Linked DNA regions of Homo sapiens: region 2 is linked to region 1. The links are contacts of gene promoters, found by promoter capture Hi-C in blood cells and fetal thymus (Javierre and others, 2016). All regions are on one chromosome and are shown on one strand. The core of a region is centred on a gene start or on the middle of the fragment in contact, and the rest is flanking DNA. Distances in the headings are between cores, read along the strand shown.

Region 1 (3,278 bases), core at 694-3,193:
ACATGGACAGAGACGTCTGCCATTAGAAGCTGGTCCTCTCATAGCCCACCAGCATCCCCCAGGAGGACACTGGCTTCCTCAAGGTCACAGCCTTTGGTTTCTGGAAAAAATGATTAAGCAGTGAAAGGATTAAGGTCTCACAGCTCCTATCGCATGATGTATAGATGCAGAGGTTTCTCATCATCTTCTTTTTATATTTTAAAAGATGGATGACAACTAGATGCCAACTGCAGCTCAGGCACCTGCCCAGTCCCTCTCAGAGCCGGGCACAAAACAGACACCTGTCTAGCCCCTCACAGAGAGCCAGGCACAAAACAGACACCTGTCCAGCCCCTCACAGAGAGCCAGGCACAAAGCGGAGACTTGTCCAGCTCCTGGCAAGGAGCCAGGCACAAAAGAGATGCCCATGAGTGTAAATGAATCTGTGAAACAGGCAGAACAGGAGCATCAACTGAGTAATTGTTTTTTCTTTTTCAAATAAGAACATTTGCGTTGAGAAGCCGCCACGGGAAGAGATGTGATGAAACACTACACAGAAAGAGGGAGGAGCCTCCGGGTAGGTTGGAGTGAGTAGGATGTAGGGTAGCCGGCAGGGGAGAAGAGGGGCAACCTTCTGTTCCGTAATATTGATACCACCCATTTGTGTGTCCAATTTTTGCTGGTTTGTGACGTCCTTCTAGGGTCCATGAGTAACCCCCACCCCATTGCCTAGCTGGGTGCCTGACTCCCCTTAAGTGCTCAGTAGACGTTGAACTGGACGGGCGCTGGCGTGGTGGCTCACGCCTGTAATCCCAGCAATTTGGGAGGCCGAAGCGAGTGGATCATCTCAGGTTCGGAGTTCGAGACCAGCCTGGCCAACATGGTGAAACCTTGTCTCTGCTAAAATTACAAAAATTAGCTGGGCGTGGTGGCGCGCGCCTGTGATCCCAGCTACTCCGGAGGCTGAGGCAGGAGAATCGCTTGAACCAGGCAGGCGGAGGTTGCAGTGAGCCATGATCGGGCCACTGCACTCCAGCCTGGGTGACAGAGTGAAACTTCATCTCTAAATAAATAAATAAATAAATAAATAAATAAATAAATAAAATAAACTTTGAACTGAACAGGGGCAGCTCTTACATCTGTCCAGTCTCGGGTTTATGCAGATAGAACAAGATAACCACATCCCACATGGGAGGCCAGTGTCCACTTGCTCCTTTGGAGGAACTACTGGGCATTTAAGGGACTCGTTGAACACACTCTGTAGGTCAACTCTGCCCGGAGTGGAGGGAGCTGCGCAGACCGCTGGCCCTCTGCACGGGTTTGCAACTCGGCTTCTGGAAACAGCGGGAGACGTCGAAGGAGGCGAGAAGGTGCGCGCGCCCTTCTCACCAGGCCGGCGGATGCTGGGTGGTACCCAAAGAGGCGCTCAGATCACTGGAGCTGGAGCTCAGTCGGCGGTCTTCTGCGGGAACTGCACCTATCCCGGAGCATCTCTGGCCCTCCTATTTCACTGAACTCGCCTTCCTCAGCAGGAAAGTGGGAAGACCGCTTGCTTCCAGGACGGTGTGGGGAAGGGTAAGAGGGCTCAGGGAAAGACCGTGGAAAGCTCGGCGCACAAGCGAGCTGGCATCACCGGGGATTCCCTCCGGCCCGGTGGGACTCCGGCGCGCTTGTAGCGAGGACCCCCAGCCCAGGGCAGAGCCTACCCTCCGCTCCCCCAGTCTGGGCCCTTGGCGGCCGCAGTCGCCCAAGCCCGCCCCGCCTCCGCGCGCGGCCCTCTCCGGCTCAGTGCCCTGCGCTGCCGGGAAGCAGGCTGAGGGGCGCACCGGGCGGCGGGCGGGGACCTGGGGAAGGCCGGGAGCGCCGGGACCGAGGACGCACGCGGCGGGCCGGGCCGCGCGCGCCTCCCCCCTCCCCCGAGGCCCGAGCGCGAGCCGCCGTGACGTCACGGGCAACCCGCCAGCCCCGCGCTCCTCCGGGCAGAGCGCGTGTGGCGGCCGAGCACATGGGCCCGCGGGCCGGGCGGGCTCGGGGCGGCCGGGACGAGGAGGGGCGACGACGAGCTGCGAGCAAAGATGTGCCCCGGGACCCCCGGCACCTTCCAGTGGATTTCCTTGCGGAAAGGATGTTGGCGGTCCCTGTGACCTGTGGAGACACGGCCAGATCTGCCCTCCAGTAAGTTCCAATTTTGTCCCCTGCGTTTCTGGAAACTCTCGAGACTTGGCCCTGAGTAGGGATGCGCTGTGAGTAGTCGGACGGAGGAAAGGGGCTTTCGGAATCCAATATGTGTGTGCTAGGCGTGCACTGTCCTCATCACCAGCCTCAAGACTGGTGGCGAGTTTGGGCGTTTGGGGAGGGTGAGGGGAGGGGGATGACACCGAATGGCCGGTGCATAGAGGCAATTCTGGATTTATGAACTTGATCAAAGGCATATTAACTAATTTCTAAAAATAGACCCCTCTGCAGTCAGAACAGATTTGGAGCCATGATGTGGTTTGGAGGCCCCTCTGGCGAAACTAGAGGTCTGTGAATGTGTGATCCTCCCTCCATCCTTTGACCATCACTCCCCGCTTCCTCTCACACCCCCTCAGGGCTGGGCGAAGGTGATTTCCAAAAACTCAGTAACTCCGTGTTTTGAGACTTTCTCAGTTTTTGCATCGCATGTGAGGGTTTGTTGGGTGCTCCTAAACCCTCATCATGGTCATTCTTCTTGGCTGGGCTGTTGATTTAATTAGGTTTGCCTTCTCTTGCTAACGTGCTCTTATTTATGCCAGTGTTTGTGGTTCTGGGTGTAGACTTTCAGGAAGCACAGCCATGAAGCTGCATGCGTCTGTGTGTGGATGCCTCATGCCTTTTCCTGGTGGTTTGCAGGCATGGAAGATTCTTCTGTTCATCTAAGCTCCTGACTTTAGGCCCTTCTAGAACATTAGAGAGGAGAAGAAATCACGTGCAAGGATTTAGGGACAAGAGGATGAGGTTTTGGTGTTTCCTTTCTGGTATTAGGTTTTCCAGAGAGAGGCTGTTAGCCTGTCTCTCGCCCACTCCACCACTGTGAATCCTGGCTACTGGGGCTAGTTCCTTGCTAGGAAAAAAAAACTCTAGAGAAATGTGTTTGTGTGTGGTGGGTGGGCGGGGGCCCTGAGGATGCAGGGACTGTGTCTGCTGTGTTGTCTGTTATAAGATGTTTCAGACCTATTTTGCATACTGGCAGCGACAAGTTGAGACTTGTTCAACTTGACACAGTCCTGTGGTCATAGCGAATCTTTCTAAAGCTCTGATCAGTCAAGAAGGGGGTTGTA
Region 2 (3,440 bases), core at 741-3,240, 830 kb after region 1:
GCAGGTCAAATTTTCCTATTTTGCAAACAGTATGGATCCTTGAGAGTTGGGGCTGCTTGCACCCAAAGATAAAGAGTGGAAGGTTCTGAGACACACTGACTCAGCATTGACTATTATGCTCTATTATGGACTCAAGTCACACCTCTGAGGAGCCCGGGTGGCATTGGCAGCTGCGTTTTCACCCACTGGTATCTTTGATTTCCTGTGTATTCCTCTCGCTGGTTATTTGCTAGTTCGGTATTAAACTAAAATAAAGGTAAAATTTCAAAATATGCATCTCTATTCCAGCTATCACTGATTTGTTGCCTGTTCAGAATGGCATGGCCATAGTTGTGGTGTTCAGCTAACACTGATTCTGATTAATCATTAATCACTGCCCATGCCAAACCAATCAACTTTCACTGCTGATCCTGGCCAGTCTTCAACTTGGGAACAGCCTTTGTGAATCAGCCTAGCTCAGCCTGGCTGTGAAGTTGGAGCAGAGAATTCTGGCAGAGGGTTCCGACATGGTTGGTAGGATGGATGGAGAAAGTAAAGATGGGTGCAGGGGAAGTAATGGAAATAATGTATTAGGCAAAAGCCCTGCAGACTGTCTCTGAATTGAAATCTTGTACTTAGACATGCAACAGAGGGGGTTTCCCACCTCTGCCCCAAACCTCCTGGGAAATTCTCCAAAGCAGCCCAATCACTTGGTATTTGCTCCATAACCGAGGTCAGAAAGTATAAGGACAATTTTTCTTTCATATGAAGCTCTGTGCATGTGAAAAGTAAATTTACCTTCTACTTCTAAAGATCTGTAGTAGGTACTGCAGTAGGAACATTACAGATGTGGTCATATTTCATCTTCATATGAAAGCTTTGAAAACGTATGATTTTCATTTTCCCCATTTTAAAAATAAGAAATCTGAGTGTCAAAGCAGTTAACTAATAATAAAGATTATGCATGTAGAAAGTGGCAGAGTGAAGGTTCAAACCCAGATCTTTCTAATATCCCCACATGAGCTTCTTACTTAAATATTCAAAACTGATCTCCTTTAAAATATTTTACTAAATGAAAAACCTTGAAAGAAAAGTTTTGTGTGTCTTGCCAAAATTATAGGTCTAATTAAAGTCAGAGTTGGGCTTTAGTAAATATCTGTTCAGTTGTCTCTTCTTACATAGGCCCTTCAAAGTGCTTTGGGACTATGGGAAAGAGATCCAAAGTGAGGTGGCAACTATCTCATTCAAACTGTTAAAGTTTAAGCACAAAGGAGCACTGCTAATTTGTAAGCAAACATCAGAATTTACCAGTTTCAGTGACAGCAAAGTCCTCACCAGAAGTTATCTTGGAGGTGCTGGGTGGCACCAGAGAATAAGCATGGGCTTTGAAATCAAAGGGCCTGTATTAAAACTCAGGCTAGGCCCGGTGGCTCACGCCTGCAATCCCAGCAATTTGGGAGGCCAAGGCGGGTGGATCACGAGGTCAGGAGATTGAGACCATCCTGGTTAACACGGTGAAACCCCACCTCTACTAAAAATAAAAAAAATTAACCGAGCGTGGTGGCACACGCCCTTAGTCCCAGCTGCTCGGGAGACTGAAGCAGGAGAATCGCTTGAACCCAGGAGGCAGAGGTTGCAGTGAGCCTAGATTGGCCCACTGCACTCCAGCCTGGGTGACAGAGCAAGACTGCGTTTCAAAAAAAAAAACACAACTCAGCTCAGGAGTTCGAGACCACCCTGGGCAACATGGTGAAACCCCATCTCTGCGAAAATACAAAAATTAGCTGGGCATGGTGGCGTGTACCTGTAGTCCCAGCTACTTGGGAGACTGAGGCACAAGAATCGCTTGAGCCCCAGAGGCAGAAGTTGCAGTGAGCCGAGACTGTACCACTGCACTCCAGCTTGAGCTACAGAGTGAGACTTCATCTCAAAACAAATAAATCTAAGTCTAGAGAAAGTTTTAAATGCCAAACTAATAAATATATTTTGTAATAATGCCTCTAACAATTTTCTTCTGTCTCTCTCTGTCTTTCTGTCTCTCTTTCTCCCTCTTCCTTCCCCATCCTCCTTCCCTCTTTTCTGTCCTTTATTCTTTCCTTTCTTTCATTCATGAGTATTAAAAGCCCTTTTTCTGCTCCATCTCTAGCCATATACCCCCTGGTGTTTTCTGCTAAAACAGAATTGATTGCCTCCTACCATGATAGTGGTTCTCACTTTTTTTTTTTTTTTAATTGAGACAGAGCCTCACTCTGTTGCCCGGGCTGGAGTGTGGTGGTGCAATCTTGACTCACTGCAACTTCTGCCTCCCGGGTTCAAGCAATTCTCATGCCTCAGCCTCCTGAGTAGCTGGGATTACAAGCATGCACCACCATGCCTGGACTTTTTGTATTTTTAGTAGAGAGGGGGTTTCACCATGTTGGCCAGGCTGGTCTAGAATTCCTGACCTCAAGTGATCTGCTCACCTCAGCTTCCCAAAGTGCTGGGATTAGAGGCATGAGCCATCACACCCGGCCATGGTTCCCACTTCTTTGCCTCCTTGGTTTCCTTTAGCTAAAGTGGTTTTAATTTTGTGTTGCCTTGGTGAGATTTTTAGTCACCAGGATCCTTCAAGATCTAACAGAAGAATCACTTTTACATTGAAATTTTTCCTATGCCCCCTTTTATTCCTCCTTCTCTAAGTTTACTTGATTGCTTCTCTCATTTATCTCTTTGTCCCAATTGTACCCTGTACATATCTCTATGGTTAATGATTCCAGCTTCACCCTATTCTATGCCTACACTTGATATTTCAAATATAATCATGTCTGGCTCATCAATAAAGCGGAACTATCACAAGACACTTTATCAGAAAGGTTGAGACACATCATGGGAGACAATGCATTTTAATAAGAAAGCCAGGGAAAGAATCTTCTGTTAGCCTTTGGAAATAAGAAAACCAGTGTGCTATCTATTTAACACTAGGACTCCCCCAGCTTTGTCCTATATCACTGTCACACCTGTACTTGAGACTGAGTTACAGAAGGAAAGTTAGTTGGGCATAAAACTGAAATAAAACTTTTTGAATATGCACAGAACTGTTTGAGCATCATGAAATTGTAGACAGTCATTCTTTTTAGCCAAAAATTACAATGCACCTGAAAGGCATTGAAGCTTGGTACCCAAGAAAACCAAGGGAAGTAACTGACACAGTTGACAGAAGCTAGTAAAAATGAGCTCTAGAATTTGTTGCAGATTCCACACTCATTCTGTTTCACTTCACTGTCTCTCAGCGACATTTGACTTAACAAATACTATTTTGCAAACTATATTTGTGCCCTTAACGCTATGTAAGATAACAGGTAAATCATGTGGTTCCTATTTTATCTGATATTTGCCATCAGTGAAATGAGAATAACATTTTCCACCTACTTCTTGGTGGCTTGTGGGTAGATTATGACATAATATTTGCAAGAGACCGTGAA

Evidence for each region. The method cuts DNA at HindIII sites, captures the fragments that hold promoters and counts their contacts. A CHiCAGO score of 5 or more calls a contact.
Region 2: a contact is called between a fragment that was not itself captured here and the fragment with the promoter of PVT1 in region 1, in 1 of 17 cell types (non-activated CD4 T cells). The highest score is 5.0, in non-activated CD4 T cells.

The regions. Positions count from the first base shown.
Region 1 is chr8:127,792,581-127,795,858 of GRCh38, forward strand. It overlaps PVT1 (Pvt1 oncogene), which reads left to right and starts at 1,944. Exons shown (of 9, transcript NR_190187.1): 1 at 1,944-2,154. RefSeq lists enhancers at 354-924, 2,067-2,636, 2,637-3,208, 2,930-2,979, 3,080-3,278 and silencers at 1,650-1,699, 1,720-1,779, 1,790-1,949. The HindIII fragment of the contact is 6,547 bases long and covers 1-3,278 here.
Region 2 is chr8:128,626,112-128,629,551 of GRCh38, forward strand. No RefSeq gene overlaps it. Among named protein-coding and RNA genes, the nearest start is that of LINC00824, 63 kb to the left of the region's middle. The HindIII fragment of the contact is 2,273 bases long and covers 855-3,127 here.